2 separate regions of the Homo sapiens genome follow, and region 2 is linked to region 1. Evidence: promoter capture Hi-C in 16 types of primary human blood cells and fetal thymus (Javierre and others, 2016). All regions are on one chromosome and are shown on one strand. The core of a region is centred on a gene start or on the middle of the fragment in contact, and the rest is flanking DNA. Distances in the headings are between cores, read along the strand shown. Region 1 holds the start of NELFCD (negative elongation factor complex member C/D). Region 2 has its middle 13 kb from the start of ANKRD60.

What was found. The method cuts DNA at HindIII sites, captures the fragments that hold promoters and counts their contacts. A CHiCAGO score of 5 or more calls a contact.
Region 2: a fragment that was not itself captured here is called in contact with the fragment with the promoter of NELFCD in region 1 in 1 of 17 cell types (neutrophils); the score reaches 5.4 in neutrophils.

Annotation. Positions count from the first base shown.
Region 1 is chr20:58,979,452-58,983,684 of GRCh38, forward strand. NELFCD (negative elongation factor complex member C/D) reads left to right here and starts at 1,805. Exons shown (of 15, transcript NM_198976.4): 1 at 1,805-1,918. The coding sequence starts at 1,859. RefSeq lists a silencer at 1,661-2,140 and an enhancer at 2,063-2,563. The HindIII fragment of the contact is 8,660 bases long and covers 1-4,233 here.
Region 2 is chr20:58,240,006-58,244,238 of GRCh38, forward strand. It overlaps the pseudogene PPP4R1L. Among named protein-coding and RNA genes, the nearest start is that of ANKRD60, 13 kb to the left of the region's middle. RefSeq lists an enhancer at 1,459-1,959. The HindIII fragment of the contact is 2,151 bases long and covers 723-2,873 here.

The DNA.
Region 1 (4,233 bases), core at 555-3,054:
CTTTCTTTTTTTTCTTTATAGACAGGGTCTCACTTTGTCACACAGGCTGAAATGCAATGGCACGACCATAGCAAACTGTAACCTCAAACTCCTGGGCTGAAGCAATCCTCCTGCCTCAGCCTCCCGAGCAGCTAGGACTACAGGCGTGCATCACCATACCTGGCTGGGGGCGGGGGAAGGGGGGGGGCGGTGTCTCGCTATGTTGCCCAGGTTGGTCTCAAACTCTTGCCTCAAGCAATCCTCCCACCTTGGCCTCCCAAAGTGCTGGGATTACAGGTGTGAGCCGCGGCGCTCAGCCACGGGCGTTACCTTTCAAAGCATCCAGATTTTATGGCGTTAATCTCCCTGTTTAAAATTTTCTGTGATTTGGACACAAAGATGGGAACAACAGACATGGGGTATTCCAAAAGGCAGAAGGTGTGGAGGGGGGTAAAGGCTGAAAAAGTTGCCGAAAGGATTAGAAGCATCACGCAATATACCAATGTAACAAACCTGCACACGCACCGAATCTAAAATTAAAACAAAACAAAAACACAACAACCAAACAAAAACCTTTCCGTGATCATCAGGAGGCTGTCATATTCTCACCCCCTACTTCACGCTGGGAATCGAGCTGCGGGCTTTACAACAGCGTCAGCTGCTCCCTTTGGCAACGACCAGAGAGGTCCTTTCTCCAGAGATTTTTGTCAGCTCTGGGCACTTTTGCTTTGTGGGCCTATCTTCCACTTTATAAAAAATTAAAAATGCTACTTTCCACTGCATTCAGTACTTTTTCTTCTCTTTTCTTTTTTCTTTTCTTTTCTTTCTTTCTTCTTTCTTTCTTTTTCTTTTTCTTTTTTTTTTTTTTTTTGACACAGTTTCACTCTGTTGCCTAGGCTGGAGTGCGGTGGTGTGATCTTGGCTCACTGCAACCTCCACCTCCTGGGTTCAAGCGGTTCTCGTGACTCAGCCTCTTGAGTAGCTGAGACTACAGGCGCCCGCCACCATGCCCAGCTAATTTTTGTGTTATTAGTAGAGAAGGGGTTTTACCATGTTGACCAGGCTGGTCTCGAACTCCTGACCTCAGGTGATCCGCCCGCCTCGGCCTCCCAAAGTGTTGGGATTACAGGCGTGAGCCACCGTGCCCTGCCCTTTTTATGTATGTATTTATTTATTTGAGATAGGGTCTCGCTCTGTCGCTCAGGCTGGAGTGCAATGGTGCGATCTTGGCTCACTGCAACCTCCGCCTCCCGGGTTCAAGCGATTCTCCTGCCTCAGTCACCCGAGTACCTGGGATTACAGGCGCATGCCACCACGCCCGGCTAATTTTTGTATTTTGAGCAGAGACGGGGTTTCACCATGTTGGCCAGACTGGCCTCGAACTCCTGACCTCAAGTGATCCGTCAGCCTCGGTCTCCCAAAGTGCTGGGATTACAGGCGTGAGCCCCCACGCCCGGTCGCGTTTAGTACTTTTTACCAAAACTAAAAGAAATTAAAACACTTTCGTGGGTCCTGGACACTTCCGGAAGGATTTGTTTCCAGCTGCCAGATGAGGAAACTGGGGCTCGCAGAGCCGGCGCCGCAGGGGAGGGGCTGTGCACGAATCCAGTGGGAAACCTCTCTCCGGAGCTAAGCCCCTGGTCCACCCGGGCATCGCTCCGGGATCGACTGGGGGCGTTCCTTCCGCCGGTCCCCTTTGTTCCCAGTGCCGAGCCCGCGGCCCTGCCCTTCCTCCAGGCCCCGCCCCTTCTTCCAGGCCCCGCCTCCCGCCCGGGCCGAGGCGCGCGGCCGCGCGTGCGCCCGCCCGCCCGTCCCCGCCTCGCGCATGCGCCGCGCTCGCTCGCGGGAGGGCATGGCGGGGGCCGTGCCGGGCGCCATCATGGACGAGGACTACTACGGGAGCGCGGCCGAGTGGGGCGACGAGGCTGACGGCGGCCAGGTGAGGCGGGGCACTGGGCGCACCCTAGAGAGAATCGTTCGTCTCCGCCGCCGGCGGGCCGGCCCCACTCCCGGAGAGGCCGCGCGGCGCGAGGCTGCGGGCGTGCGGGGGGTGTGCGCGCGCACGGCCCGCGCGGTCACCGTGTGGTTCAAGCACAGCCCGCCCCGCCCCCGCCCGCCCGGGGTCCCGCGGCGCGGCCGCCGGGGTCCCCGCCTCCTCGCCTGCAGGACCTTGGGGTGGGGGTGAGGCGCCGGAGGCTCTGGCGCGGGGCGGCCCGAGGCCCCCAGTACCCCCTCGCTCCGGCCAGGCCCGGCGCCGGCCCTGCGACCCCCGCGGCGGGCGGGACACCAACGCTAAGGTGGAGGGTTGGGTCCGGAGCTCACAGACTTTTAAACAAAAATAAAGTGGAAAAACTTCACAGCAGCATCATGAGGAAAAAGTAGAACTTAGGGCATTCCTACATGTGCTTTACTGTTTTATAAACTGTACTCTTCAGCACCTTGGGCTGATTTCATCTGTTTTTGGGCAAACTGATGGAAAGGATTTTCGGGCCTTGACCTTCCAGGGTTTGGGGTGGAAGCCCAGGAGGGATCACTGTTCCACCCTGAGGACAGGGACTGCAGAGCCAGGGCAGGTAGCTCTAGTCTGGACAGTGTGTCCCCACCTTACTCTAAAGACCCAACTGAGGCGCATGATTGAAATGTAGCTTCTCACGTCCCTCCCCTGGAGACGGCCCAACAGTTGGTCTGGACGGGAGCCTGGGAACTTGCATTTTTTTTTTTTTTTTTTTTTTTTTTTTTTTTTGTGGTGGAGTTTCGCTCTTGTTGCCCAGGCTGGAGTGTAATGGCGCCATCGCGGCTCACTGCAACGTCTGCCTCTCGGATTCAAGCGATTCTCCTGCCTCAGCCTCCCGAATAGCTGGGATTACAGGCACCCACCACCATGCCCAGCTAATTTTTAAAATTTTGAGTAGAGAGGGGGTTTCACCTTGTTGGCCAGGCTGGTCTCAAACTCTTGACCTCAGGTGATCCACCCACCTCTGCCTCCCAAAGTACTGGGATTACAGGCGTGAGCCACTGCTCGTGGCCCAGGAACTTGCATTTTTAACAACAATCAAGATTGGGGATGTCTGGTGCATTTTGAAGTGGTATTATAAGGGAATAAAGGATGAAGTGGGGCTTACGTTGATAAACATGGGTGGTGGTGTGATGGCGGCTTCGGAGCCATGGTCTAAAATGCCAAGGCGGGCGATGTGTTTCTGGAACTGAAAGAAGCCCTGTGATGTTAGCTGCCTGGTGGAAGCAGTGGCAGGAGGTCAGTAGGGAGCAGGTTCTGAAGATCCTTGGAGAGCTGCTGAATGGTATGGCTTGTTCAGGAGTTTGGGGCAGGGAGTGACACGAGTAGATTTGCATGTTGGATCATTTCACAGTGTTGGAGGCTTAGGGTGGAGTGGATAGAGTCAGACTTAGCTAACTGAGAGCTTGGGCCATGTGTGTCATGCGTTATCCCCTTCCACACACAGGATTTTGAGTTGGGTGTTACCCTACTTATCTGGTAAGTGTAGAAAATGAGACGAAAAGACTTACTGACCTGCCCAAGGTCATGAAACTAATAAAGGAAGGAGAGGGGACCCAAACCCACATCCTTTGCCTCCGTTGCCACTTCGTCAAATTGCTGACTACCAAAGTGGTCCAGATGAGAAGGTGTGAATTAGCTTAGTGGTAGGTTGGTGTTTGGGGCATCTAGTATATCACCTTGAGCCTTTTTTTCTTTTTTTTTTTTTTTGAGACAGAGTCTCGCTTAGCTGCTCAGGCTGGAGTGCAGTGGCTTGATCTCAGCTCGCTGCAACTGCCATCTCCTGGGTTCAAGCAATTCTCCCGTCTCAGCCTCCTGAGTAGCTGGGATTACAGGCATCCGCCATCATGTCCGGCTAATTTTTGTATTTTAGTAGAGACAGTGTTTCACCACGTTGGCCAGGCTAGTCTTGAACTCCTGACCTCAGGTGATCCGCCTGCCCCGGCCTCCCAAAATGCTAGGATTACAGGCGTGAGCCACCGCACCCGGCCTTTTTTTTTTTTTTTTTTCTTTGAGACGGAGTCTCACTCTGTCACCCAGGCTGGAGTGCAGTGGTGCCATCTTGGCTCACTGCAACCTCCACCTCCTGGGTTCAAGTGATTCTCCAAGTAGCTGGAATTACAGGCCGGTGCCACCACACCCGGCTAATTTTTGTATTTTTAGTAGAGATGTGGTTTCACCATGTTGGCCAGGCTGGTCTCGAACTCCTGGCCTCAAGTAATCTGCCCGCCTCCGCCTCT
Region 2 (4,233 bases), core at 548-3,047, 740 kb before region 1:
TCCAGAGAGTGGGTTTTCAATTTTGCTTGAAGTGAAAGCAACACCCAAAACTCATCTTCTTAAGATTGGCACAATATTTGATATCATAGAGGACAGTCTAGACAGCAATGTCTGCTTAGGCTGGTACATCCAGCTCTTGAGAATGGAGACTGCCTTCTCTTTTCTTACAACTGCCCCAAGAACCTAGCACCTGAGACCTTATACTCTGATAATCACGTCTATGTTTGACTGTGCTTGACTGAGATAGAACTCAATCAAATCAGTGTTAGATGTCTTATTTTTTTCTCATATTAGTTTGCTTTATTGAAAACACTATTATAGATTGTTCAGAAGCTTAAACACTACCTTACAATTAATTTTTTACAATTAGCAACACGAAATATGAATTAAAATATGTAATCAATATTGATAGAAGAAAAAATATTTGGTTCCAATTCTTAAAGTTAACTTTAAGAAAATACACAGTTTTGAGTTGCCTCCCCGCCCCCCCGCCCCCGAAAGAAACGAACCTGTAATTTAGATTTATTCTCTTCAAGTGGGGTGGGATCCTGCCTCTGGTCAGTCTCCAGATGGTCACTGGTTCCATTTCTGGGTCCACCTGGATCCTACAGAGTTGATTGGACATGTTACCAATTTGCTCCAAAGGAAGCAGCTGTCCTGTCACTTCCCCTTCAAAGAGTCCTTTTTCAATGCCAGAAATTACTTCTGTAAGCCAAGGCAAAAGCTTTCCTTGAAGTCAATGGTATCTTTCCAGATGTTAAAAATTACATTTGCACAGTTACATATGATACTGTATAAACCAGTTCTTTTAAGTGCAAAGGAAAATTGATTTCATACATTTTAATTTCAAGACTGCTGGAGGTCCTTACAGAAATACAAAGGCTAAAGTGAAAGCACTGAGGAGCAACCCTGTGAGTTTGCATCCACTATTCCTTATGCCCTAGGGACTCCCTGGTATGGCTAACCAACACCTTTAAGTAATATTCACATGTTTAAGGCACAGACTACTCCAGAAGGGTGAGGTTTGCAAGAAGTGGTAGAGCCAGCACCTCCAGCATTTCTTGGTAATCAGGGATTGCAGCAATGGTGGGTCCCTGAAAGAGGATGGGGGCTGGGGAACCCAATGAATCTGAGAGAAAAGATGTGGCTGATACAGGAGTATTTAATCAGAAAATTGTCCTAGATTTTCACAGGTACAAACACTCCTGATGTTCGCTGATAAACCTTTACATTAGGTAAACAATTAAAATGAACAAGAACATTCAATGGTGACATTTTGGTCTCTGATCGTTGATTAACATTAACTGAGATGGACCTGACCTTCTCCTTCAACCATAACATGGATTTCCAAGTTGCACTTGAAATGTCATACTGTCTACCAGCTTAATGGATTCTGACAAATCAGCTCAATGTATGATCCAGGAAAGTCGATTAACACACCGATAGATGCTTCGTTTGCTCTGAGGCGCGCCACCAGAACCTTCAATTCCCAAGGTTTTCACTGATATGTACTATTTATTTTAACAGAGGACATGATAAAACAGAAATATTTTGGTATAAAAACCTAAGACCTCAATTTCTTGTGGTCTTATTATTAATAAATTCACATATAGTAACAAGATGTGTCATTAGAATCACTATTATCCCTTTAGAAATTAATTTTATTCCAAAGTCTTCAGTGCAAGCATATGTGCAGCACTTAATCCAGGAGCCAAATCAAGGCTTAAGCAAATCACCACAAGTCATGGCACCTCCAGAAGGTATTGTGAGTTCCCCAAACCCCAGTGGGACACCATGCTGGCTGGCTACCTGTGCACCCACCACTCAGCATCCAGCAGCCTTCTTTCTAGCAGGATCCCGACTCAGGGGGCTCCCATGTTTCTGCCCAGTTCACCATGCTCAACCCATGAATGCACACCGTGACTGTGGCCAGGAAGAGGGAGGCAGAAGGAGAGGGCAGGGAGGTGGTTTCCCGCCTGGGGTGTCCTTGTTCTTCAAAAGAGACAAGTGGGAAGACACAGGCCCCGCCTTCCACTGGGCATTTCATGCTGACAAAAGCCACCACAGCAGAGGGGAAGGGTGGACAGATCAGCACCAAAGGTATGGAGTCTAGCAGCCCAGAAGCTGCCCAACCACAGCACTTCTTCCTCTTGTCTTGTGCAAGAGAACATTTTCCTCATGGTTCTTGGAGTTTTTTATTTCCTCTCCCTTCTTTTGCGACAGGAAGCATCCTAATTAATCCCACTAGGATCTTGGAGTCAAGCCGCAAATTCAAGGGCTCTGCCCTCCCACACCATAAAACAGGCTCCATTACACAAACCCTTTTAAAGCTGCAACTCAAAAGCCCCAGCCTGGAGGAATCTGTTCTTTTTTTTTTTTTTCACCTCTATGATAAAGAAGTCCAAATACTATCACATCCCCACCAAGGTAAATGTGGTCACACCCTTCTACTTAACACTTGCAACTTTTGCACTCTAGGTAACAAGGTTGACAATAATGAGCTTTCTTGCTAATTTTTTTAGCAACAAACCAGCAGAAGAGGATATCACCCCATTTCTTATTAATCACAGATAACCAACTCCTACACATTTTATGTTTGAGTTCTAAAATGTTTTATTTTGCTTTATTAGAGCAGGCCTAAGGGGTAAGGGAGGTGTTAATCACTGAAATCAAGTTCTAAACTGTATGAATAGAGAAACAACTGGTATTTAGGCCCTGGAGACCATGAGATTGAAGAGATTATCCATCATGGCACATGATAATGACACGGTGCTATCCCAATGACTGTATGACCACAGACTCCTCCCTCATTTTAATCCTCCATTCTGCCCCCCTACCTGTGGAAGACCCCAACTTAAAGTGGTCCAAGTGGAAGCTTAGTAGAAACTAGGACAGCTCAAGAACCTCCAGCTACAAGGGGTTGACCCAAGCTCCTGGAGAAACCTGAAGAAATAAATCATGGGCCCCTCTTCACTCCAGCTTTGGGGCCGTGGTCTCACAAGGGGCTGGTTCCACCCACAGGAGGAAGGGGGTCACTGGTGCTTTTTCAAAAGAAAGAGAAACAGCATGCCAGGACCAGCACTGGAGCATCCACGTATGCCAGAGCGCCTACCAAATGGGCGGCTGGTGTGACAGCTGCTCTGGGAGGCCTCGTCCACTTGAAATTCCAGGAACTGCCTGAATTCACCCTCCACTATTATTAAAAGATGTTGATGTCTGTTAGCAGTGACACAGAGCATTTACATGGTTAACCTCCCCAAAGAAGAAGTTCTTGTCATCTCTGGAGAAGAGGGAAGGTACTTTCTGGTGCCCACCCGTCTTCGTGGGAGCGCGTCGGCACTATCAATCACCTGATTGATTGGTTGTCTAGTTATCCAAAACATGACCTTAAGAATAAAATGAAATTTGCCATTTATCATCTCTGCTGGGATATATTAATAAGAGAAAATGCTGCTTTGTGATTTCTGTCACATCCTCGGTGGCTGAGGGATACGGCAAATACTTACTGGGCTTTGTAATATCCTGGCCACAAAGAGCTCATCCTGAGATGATGAGGCCGCCAGAGCGATCTGATTGTCAGAGGCAGAGCTGGGATGTGAAATGGACACTTCCTTTAGGCCTGCTGTTGGCTTGCTCTCAGCTTCATTCACGCAGTCGAGCTGTGCAGCTCTCAGTGCAGCGGATAATACCTGAACTTGAGCTGGAGGAAGAGAAGTTTCAAGAAATTTAACAACTTTATTTGGTTTGTGGGGGTTTACTTCAGAGAAGTCTTCAAAACAACATAGTCTGCACTAAGCTACATGGTGTGGGTGTACTACACTGACACGTATCTGTTCTGAAGTGACAATGCTCTGGAGTCTCAAGCTCTCGGCAAGGTGGTGATATTTCCGGCCACTAACAATTAACTACTTCAACTAAATGCCAGCCATGCACAGAACATCAAACCTGAACTTGAAAAGTCTCAATTCGGAAAAACCCAAGTGACTCCACCATGTTTCACAGAAAGACAGCATGGTATCACTGAACAAGGATGACTGGGAGGTCCAACAACTCAGTGAAGGGTATCCTGCTCCCCCATTTATAAAGCAGGATGGCTACCTGCTCACATACACATACATACATGTGCACACACACACCCATGCATGAATACATCCATTTACACACAGATGAGTAATGCTCTCACTCACCAAGCCCCAAAGGCTGCCCATTCTTTCTGTCCAGAGTATGACAGTT